Linked DNA regions of Homo sapiens: regions 1 and 2 are each linked to region 3. Evidence: promoter capture Hi-C in 16 types of primary human blood cells and fetal thymus (Javierre and others, 2016). All regions are on one chromosome and are shown on one strand. The core of a region is centred on a gene start or on the middle of the fragment in contact, and the rest is flanking DNA. Distances in the headings are between cores, read along the strand shown. Region 1 has its middle 27 kb from the start of XPNPEP2. Region 2 has its middle 27 kb from the start of APLN. Region 3 holds the start of ZDHHC9 (zDHHC palmitoyltransferase 9).

Region 1 (3,028 bases), core at 187-2,686, 130 kb after region 3:
GATAAATATATACAATCATATAACTAATACTGCCTAGGTAGAAGTTTATTGTTTTTATTGATATTTTCAAAGCACTGACTTTTGGTTTCATTGATCTTCTCTATCTATTTGCTAGTTCATTGATTCCTGTTCTTATCTTCGTTATTTCCTTTCTTCTACTTATTTTGGGCTTAATTTATTCTTCCTTTTCTAGCTTTTTAAGCTTGAAACTGTTAAGTTTAGCATGAAATTGCCTCCTTACGTGTTTTAAGTTCGGCCTAAAGGTTTCTGTGTGCATAGTGAACTGTAACCTAACTGGATGTGTAAACAAACTGTAACCTGCTCTTGTACGAGTCACCGAGTTTTGGCAAATCACAGGCGGCCAACTGTTCAAATTGTGTTCAAATAAGGCAAACATTGAGCTGTAATTAATCCAGCTGGTTCTGTACCTCACTTCCATTTTCTTTTTCTTTTCTTTTTTTTTTTTTCTTTTTGAGACAGAGTCTCACTCTGTCGCCCAGGCTGGAGTGCAGTGGCACAACCTTGGCTCACTGCAACCTCTGCCTCCTGGGTCTCAAGCGATCAATCCTCCCTCCTCAGCTTCCTGAGTAGCTAGGATTATGGGCGTGTGTCACCACACTCAGCTGATTTCTCTATTTTTGGTAGAGATGGGGTTTCGCCATGTTGCTCAGGCTGGTCTGGAGCTCCTGGGCTCAAGCGATCCACCAGCCTTGATCTCCCAAGGTTCTGGGATTACAGGCGTAAGCCACTCTGCCCAGCCCACACTCCCGTTTTCTGTACATCACTTTCCTTTTTCTGTACATAAATTTTCTCCAACCACATGGCAGTGCTGGAGTCACTCTAAATCTATTCCGGTTTAGGAAGCTGCCTGATTTGCAAATTGGTCTTTGCTGAATTTAACTCTGTTAAATTTAATTTGTCTAGAGTTTTTCTTTTAACAAAGCTGAGGTCATTGATCTAAGACCTTTCTTCTTTCTTAATATAGGTATCGAGTGCCATAAGCTTCCCCCTAAATACTGCTTTAGTGACATCCCGCAAATTTTTATATGCTGTCTTCATTTTCATTCATTTAAAAATGCTTTTCAATTTCCCTTTTGATTTATTCTCTGACTCATGGATTATTTTGAAGTGTGTCATTAATTTCCAAATATTTAAGGATTCCATAGATATCTTTTTTGTTATTGATTTTGAATTTAATTCTGTTGAGATCAGAGAACATACATTCATGATTTTAGTCCTTTTAAATTTATTGAGACTTGTTTGATGGTCCAGCTTATGGTCTATCTTGGAGAATGTTCCATATGTGCTTGAGAAGACTGTGTATTCTGCAGATATTGGGTGCAGTGTTCTATTCATGCCAATTAGGTCAGGTTGATTGAGGGTGCTGTTTAAGTGGGTTTTTTTGTTTGTTTGTTTGTTTTTGTTTTGTTTTGAGACTGAGTCTCACTCTGTCACCCAGGCTGGAGTTCAGTGGTGCTATCTCAGCTTACTGCAACATCCACCTCCCAGGCTCAAGTGATTCTCCTGCCTCAGCCTCTCTGGTAGCTGGGATTTTAGGAGCCTGCCACTATGCCTGGCTAATTTTTGTATTTTTATTATAGTGGAAACGGGGTTTTACCACATTGGCCAGTCTGGTCTCAAACTTCTGACCTCAAGTGATCTGCCTGCTTCGGCCTCCCAAAGTGCTGAGATTACAAGTGTGAGCCACCACTCCTGTCAAGATGTTAAGTCTTATATACTCTTACTGATTTACTGTTTACTTATTTTATCAGTTACTGAGAAAGAACTGTTGAACTCTCCAACTATAGTTGCAAATTTGTCTATTTATTTCAATTCTGTCAGTTTTGAGTTCATGTATTTTGAAGCTTGTTATTAGGGACATACACATTTAAGATTGTTATATTGTCCTGATGACTGTTTTATCATTAAACATGTCTATTCCTGGTAATATTCTGTGTCTTAAAGCTTACTTTGAAATTAACATAGCCACTCCTGGTGCATCTTTATCATTTTAGTTTTAACCCATCTGTGTCTTTATGCTTAAAACATATGCTTGAAACAAATGTTGAGTCCAATTTTCTTTTTAATGCAGTAGGACAATCTCTAACTTTTAATTGTACTGCTTAGAGTCCCTTCACATTTGATGTCGTTATTGATATTGTTGAATTTAGGTCATCCACTTCTCTATTTGTTTTCTATTCTTCCTTTCTATTCTTTGTCAACTTTTTCCTCTATTTTTGCCCTCTTTTGGGTTGAGTATTTTCTTTTATTTTTGTTGAGATGCAGTTTTGCTCTTGTTGCCCAGGCTGGAGTGCAATGGCACGATCTTGGCTCACTGCAATCGCCGTCTCTGGGATCAAGTGATTATCCTACCTCAACCTCTGAGTAACTGGGATTATAGGCGTGCACCACAATGTTCGGCTAATGTTTGTATTTTTAGTAGAGATGAGATTTCACCATGTTGGCCAGGCTGGTCTCAAACTCCTGACCTCAGGCGATCTGCCCACTTCAGCCTCCCAAAGTGTTGGGATTACGGGCATAAGCCACTGCGCCCGGCCTGGTATTTTCTTAAAAACTTTTTGTTTTAAAATAATTTTAGATTTATAGAAGAGTTGTGAAATGGAGAGTTCCCATAGACCTTTCATCCAACCTTTCATAAACACTTGACATAAACACAATATATTTCTCAAACATAAGAAATTAACCTTGGTACAATACTACTACACTACAGACTTCATTCGGATTTTCCCAGTTTTCCCATTCACACCTTTTTCTATTCCAGGATCCCACTTCAATTAATCATGATCATGTCTACTTAGGTTCCTCTTGGCTATGACAGTTTCTCAGGTTTTTCTGTTTTTTGACGATCTGGACAGTTTTGAGAAGCACTGGTCATGTGTTTTGTAGAATGTCTCTCAATTTGGGTTTGTCTGATATTTTCTTTTGATTGGTCTGTGGATATGCATTTTTGGAAAGAATACCATTGAGGTGATGTACCCTTGTCATCCCATCAAATCAGGGGTATATG
Region 2 (2,983 bases), core at 179-2,678, 160 kb after region 3:
CCAGCAAGGAGACTTGAGACAAAAGGTGCTATGATCTGAGTTTTTGTGTCCTCCCAAATTCATATGTTGATATCCTAACCCCTAACATGATGATATTAGGAGGCTGGGCCTTCGGAAGGTGATTAGGTCATGGGGGCAGAGCCCTCATGAATGGTATTAGTAACCTTATAAAAGAGGCCCAAGAGAGTACCCTTGGCCCTTCCACCTTGTGAGGATACAGCTAGGAGGTGCCATCTACGAAGGAACTGGGCCCTTGTTGGACACCAAATCTGCTAGTGCCTTGATCTTCGACTTCCCAGCCTCCAGAACTGTAAGAAATAAATGTCTACTGTTTATAAGCCAACCAGTCTGCAGGCCTTTGTTATAGCAGCCCCAATGGACTAAGATAAAGGGAATTTCCACAAAGGAACACCAGGAAGCTATGTGGATCTTTAACTTGGGGTCCCTGTTCCTCTAAGTAGTCTGTGGCTGGAATTCAGAGGATTCATGAACTTAGATGGGGAAAACTACATCTTTGTTTCTGCTATCTTTTAACTATATTTTAGCATTTCCTTCAATCATGAATGCAGGTGATAAACCACCATAGTATTAGAGGACCTGTGACTTGGCCACCAGCAGAAATTACACATATTTTCATATCACATTAGAATGAAGCACATCTCTTGAAATAGCAATATGTTCATCATTGCTTTGAAATTGTGATAGTTATAAGACTCACAGCTAGATTTAGTTATATAATGTGCTAATAATGAAGCACAGACATCACAAATTTTAAAAAATATGTTGGAGACCGGGTGCAGTGGCTCATGCCTACAATCCCAGCACTTTGGGAGGCCTAGGTGAGAGGATCACTTGAGCCCAGGAGTTTGAGGTTACAGTGAGCTATGATTGTGCCACAGCACTCCAGCCTGGGAGACAGAGTGAGACCCCATCTCAAAAAAAAAAAAAAAGTTGATAGCTATATTTCACTATACTTGGTTTCCATTTAAATCCTTTGTATTTTATGCATCTAAAAATATTATTCTGAAAAGGGGACCAAAGGCTTCAACAGATTGCTAAAGGGTCCATGACACAAAAAAGGACCAAGAGGACCAAGAGTGTGTCTGGTTGCAATTGGTCACAATTCTCCTAGAATACGTGACATCTTCCAAGAAGAGCCTAAGTCGGTCAGTGCAGACCCTTTCCAGTCATTCCTGGAATGGGTGGGGACCCTCCAATCCCCAACAATCTCACTCTCTATCACAATATGTGTCTATTAATTAGTTTCTCAAATGGCAAAAGGCCAAGTGTAGGATGCGGATGGGCAATGGAATCTCAAACTCCTTCCCAGACACCCTGTACCAGCCAATTAGATTGTTCACTGTTGGCTGGGAGTGCTGTACACATCCCACCTCCTTTGCTTTATCTCTGCTATTTCCTCTGGCTGTAATGTGGGCCCAGCTTCAGCCCTAGCCCCAAGTCCGTGCTACTCAAACATCAGATCTAAGGTCACTAACGGTAAATGACCAGGGACACCTACCCTTCCAACAGTCTAGGCTAATATCATGTTCTTATGCTCCAAGACCCTGTATTCTGGAGCTTTATCTGAACACTTGCCCAAACACTTGAGCTGACCCACAGCTGCTTCTTTAAGGAACATGTTGCCTCTGGCCCCCAGGCACTTTAGTAGCTTGAGGTGGGCTGTGGCCTGTCCAGGCAAGAATGAAAGGCAGGTACGCCCACTTTCAAAACAAAATAGAGGTTCTTCTTCCTATGTCACCCAGAACACCCACATCTAAATTTTAATCCACAGCATACAACTTTAATACCCTCTGCACACTCGCAGAAGACCTCAGCCTCCCCACCTCTTATCCAGGATCTGTTGGGAGCATGGCAGCCTCTGCCAATCTTTGGTATTGAATTGACAAACGGAAGGCTTTAGGCTAGATAATGAAGTCAGGAAAGCAGAGAGCTAGCTGGTAGAGTGGGAAGAAGTAGAAGGGTCAGTGGGCTGGCCATCCCAATAAAGTTGAAGAACAGTTCTCACAGGAATAATCACACAAGAAAACTGGAAGATGAGAAGGTAGCAGAGCGGGGAGGCTTGAAAGAGTGATTTTTAAAGTGGCACAGCTGAAAGCAATGTCAAGGCCCAAGGTGTGACTGTGCCAGAGTGTAACTTGAGGAGGAGTGCAGGAGGTAAAGATGAGCAAGTCAAAGAATAGAGAGAACATGACATTGGAAGGGATGTCTGCATGAATGTAGAAGTCATCCATGAGAATGTCAGGGTTTCTGGAAGAGGAGAAAACCATGAACTCTTTTACCAAAAGTCTTTAATGAATGAGATTTAAAAAATGACAGTGATTAGGAAGCGGAAAGGTTAGCATTGCCCAATAGTAGGGACCTTGGAAGAGCAAGCCAGTAAATGATAGAGTTCTTCAAACCCTAAGTTGTTTTTTTGTTTGTTTGTTTTTGCCATTCTACAATCTTTATCCAGGTGATTGATTCACACCCCCTATCCTCATGGCTCCCAAATTTACATCTGTAGCTCAGATCTCTCCTCTAAGTTTCAGACAGCTTATCCAACTGCATACTTGACAGCTCCACTTGGACCAAACATATGACCTTCCTTCCAAATACTGTCCTCTTCCAGGCCTCTTTTTCTCTGCGGTGCCCCCATTCATTCAGTTGCCTAAATCTGAAACTTAGCAGTTATCCTTGACAGTCCCCCTCTCTCACATTTCCCCCTGTCAAATCTATTATCAAGTCCTGTTGATTTCACCTCTTCAGTAGCCCTTGAGTTCCTCCGCTCCTCCCTGCCACCACCCTGGCCTACACTGCCATTTCTCCCCTGGTTTAATGCAAGGGCTTCTGTACACAGCCACTTGGCCCCCCTCCAATCTGTTCACTCTGCAGCCAGACTGATCATTTTAAAATGCAAATCTGATCATGTCACCTGCCTGCTTAAACATGTCACCACCTTCCCATGTCTGTCTGACTCACTGCT
Region 3 (3,272 bases), core at 701-3,200:
TATACATAGGCTTGGAAATCCACAGGGCTGATGAGGTTTAGGGAAGTTCTTCTCCCTCCCATACCAAGTGTGTGCAATACCAGCACCCTCCAGAATTCAAAGCGGGAGAATTGGAGGCAATGATACTGATCGTACACTTCATGAGGAATAAACTGTTGATCATAATCAGCATGAGTGCTAAGGAACAATGGAAGCTTTATAAAGACAAACCTTCCTTTGCAAGTTAATTACAACACATCTCAGAATTACCTAGTGTTTTTTAAATCCTTTAAGAATTTTGAAGGGTGCCATGAAAGTGTCAAATGTAATTATTATGTAGCTTTTTGTTTCATATTGTGTGGGACACATATACTGTAAAGGAAAAATAGTTCTTGACCATGTATGTGGTCCTTCAACTAACATACAACTGCCTTAGGAAGAGCTTTGGCAGTCTCTTCTGTACTAATTCCAAATACCAAATCTCTAAAACTTTGAAATTTTTATCACGCTTAGGAAAACCTAGGCTGGTAATGTAGGCATTCTCCTCCAATCTTCAACCTTTTCTCTTATCTCCTCTTACACTTGGAAAGGAGATGCCACCTTCAACCTTTTCTCATATTTCCTCTTATATTTGGAAGGCAGGAGCCATACTGGTGAAAACAGACCTAGTGTCTTTTAAAGTCACCCTATAGTATAATACTGTGGTTCTCAATTGTTTCCCCCCTTCAATCTCAAACTTTTTTTTTTTTTTTTTTAAGACAGGGTCTCTCTCTGTCGCCCAGGCTGGAGTGCAGTGGCATGATCTTGGCTCACTGCAACCTTCACCTCCTGGGTTCAAGTGATCCTCCTGCCTCAGCCTCCCTGGTAGCTGGGACTACAGGCGAGTCCCACCGCTCCCCGCTAACTTTTGTCTTTCTAGTAGAGACGGGTTTTGCCATGTTGGCCAGGCTGGTCTTGAACTCCTGACCTCAGGTGATCCACCTGCCTCGGCCTCCCAAAGTGCTGGGATTACAGGCGTGAGCCACCGCGCCCAGCCCAATCTCAAACTTTTAATGCATGCAACTCACTCGGATCAGTAGCAGTGGCTCATGGTGGCAGTAATGCAGAGCTGGGTGGCAGAAGGAAAAAATCAATCTGGTTGGTGGGTGGGAATTCTGCCTTGGATTCTCCCCTTAATCATCATAAGCTTTCCAAACCGAATAAAAATTTACAACCTTTTTGGCAATCTTTACTTCATTACCTACCTGGAAGAATTTATGTCCTCAGTGGAGTTTCTTTAACTCCATTAATGTCAATTAGTTGTTTTAGGTGCTGCAAAATGATAATACGTTCTTGGGGACATTTATCCTTTACAACATGCTTTTTATGCTTGTTTGTGTGTTTTGATTTGAAAGACTTAGAGATGCAGGCTAGGGTGACTGGGACAGATATGGGGTCCCTGGCTACTGAATGAGACTTGGGAGGCAGATGACTTGTTTTTATGCCGATAAAGAGTAAAATCTCAAGTTGCGGTTGATTTTAAAATGCAAGCAGGGCTGGAGAGGCCCATGGCAGACCTAGTTTGGGGTGAGCACCCGGATCTGTGAGCTAGTGTTGCTTCAGCATCTCACTGTGTGTGTGTGTGCGCGCGCGTGTGTGTGTGTGCGCGCGCGCGCGCGTGTGTGTAGGCTGGTTCCACCCTTTGCTGTCCCATCGGCACTACCCTTAACCTCCGTCTCTGCGTAACTATATTAATAGAAGGCAACACTTCACATACTGGCGCTCAGACCCCAAAGAGAGGCTGGCAGTGGCTTGGCAGGTGGGCATGCAGCAGGGAGATGGGTGGAGGAGTGGGCGGAGGCATCGTCGAGTGGCGTTAGGCAAAACCAATGGCAGTTCGGGATAGGGGCGGCCGGGGCGGAGGCGCCGAGGCCGATCGGCCAATAGAGGGCGAGCAACTACTGGAGCGACCTGGTGACGTGAGGAGCGTTCCATTTGGCCAGTGGTGGGCGGTTGCCACAGCTGGTTTAGGGCCCCGACCACTGGGGCCCCTTGTCAGGAGGAGACAGCCTCCCGGCCCGGGGAGGACAAGTCGCTGCCACCTTTGGCTGCCGACGTGATTCCCTGGGACGGTCCGTTTCCTGCCGTCAGCTGCCGGCCGAGTTGGGTCTCCGTGGTTCAGGTAACGAGGGGTGGGGGCGGGGGTCTCCTGGGCTCGGCTGCAGGGTGGGCTGCCTCCCCTTCCGCGGCGCCTGGAGGCGGGGACGTCGGCACCGCCCTTCTCAACTCGGCAGCCGCCGAGCCCCTGGCCCGGGGTGACTACACGTGGCGGGGCGTGTGTGAGTGTGTACGAGCGTGTGGCTGCGTGTGCGTGTGGATGTGGCGCGCGTCCCAACCTGCCTGGGGCGGTGGTCCGCGGCGTGGCGGAGTCAGGGCGGGCCTCGAGAGGCCGCGCCCGCGGCTCGGCCCCGGACTCCGGCCTCCGGCCTCCGGCCCCCCGCTGGGGAGCCGGTCGCTGCTTCCCGACGGATTTTGATCTTTGTTCTTCCAGGCCGGCTCCCCCTTCCTGGTCTCCCTTCTCCCGCTGGGCCGGTTTATCGGGAGGAGATTGTCTTCCAGGTTAGTTTTACACAAAGGACGGGTTCTCTGCACCTCTGGGCCCCCCTCCCCTTCCCCGAACCTTCTACCTTCTCGTTTCCCTGCTCCGCTCCTAGGCTGTTTTTGGACCTTTGCCCTCTCCAGCCCGCGAGTTGGCTGTTTCTCCCTCCGTCCGTCGGGCTGCAGGCTTCCGCCTCAGTCCTGCCAGCGTGGGGCATGTGGTGTCGGTAAATAGAGGCCACAACACCACACCTGAGCGGAGGAGAAGGGTAGCAGAGGCTGAGAAACTCTGGGCCTGGGAATTCAGGATGCTGAGTAGAGATGGTACTTAGGACATGTCCCAGAAAGCGCCCTTGTGACTTTTCTTAGCTGCTGCCATTCCCCACCCCCCAACCAGCCATCAGCAGTCACCAACCATTCCAGAATCTCTCCTGCTTAAGTCAGCCTTTCACCTACAGGTCTCTGATGTGGTTTCATTAAGATTCTCACAAATGTTAGGCTAGACCAGCCAGATTGTTTCATTTCCCGGACTCAGGAAGTTGCAGAGGGTTTGATGAGGGGAAATCTGTTTTGTGTAAATACAATGCACGTATGTGCACAGAGCGTCCAGAACCTCCTGGCCCTGCCAGAGGGTGACTTGTTCCCTGCTGTGATTCATATTCGAGTGGCTAATTGAAGAAAGAAGGTGAAGTGGAGGAAGGGAGGGAGGTTTTATA

Evidence for each region. The method cuts DNA at HindIII sites, captures the fragments that hold promoters and counts their contacts. A CHiCAGO score of 5 or more calls a contact.
Region 1: a contact is called between a fragment that was not itself captured here and the fragment with the promoter of ZDHHC9 in region 3, in 13 of 17 cell types (non-activated CD4 T cells, naive B cells, total B cells and 10 more). The highest score is 13.5, in non-activated CD4 T cells.
Region 2: a fragment that was not itself captured here is called in contact with the fragment with the promoter of ZDHHC9 in region 3 in 12 of 17 cell types (non-activated CD4 T cells, activated CD4 T cells, naive B cells and 9 more); the score reaches 18.3 in non-activated CD4 T cells.

Annotation. Positions count from the first base shown.
Region 1 is chrX:129,710,769-129,713,796 of GRCh38, reverse strand. No RefSeq gene overlaps it. Among named protein-coding and RNA genes, the nearest start is that of XPNPEP2, 27 kb to the left of the region's middle. The HindIII fragment of the contact is 863 bases long and covers 1,005-1,867 here.
Region 2 is chrX:129,680,061-129,683,043 of GRCh38, reverse strand. No RefSeq gene overlaps it. Among named protein-coding and RNA genes, the nearest start is that of APLN, 27 kb to the right of the region's middle. The HindIII fragment of the contact is 3,654 bases long and covers 1-2,983 here.
Region 3 is chrX:129,842,564-129,845,835 of GRCh38, reverse strand. It overlaps ZDHHC9 (zDHHC palmitoyltransferase 9), which reads left to right and starts at 1,950. Exons shown (of 11, transcript NM_016032.4): 1 at 1,950-2,140; 2 at 2,510-2,577. The HindIII fragment of the contact is 4,624 bases long and covers 1,168-3,272 here.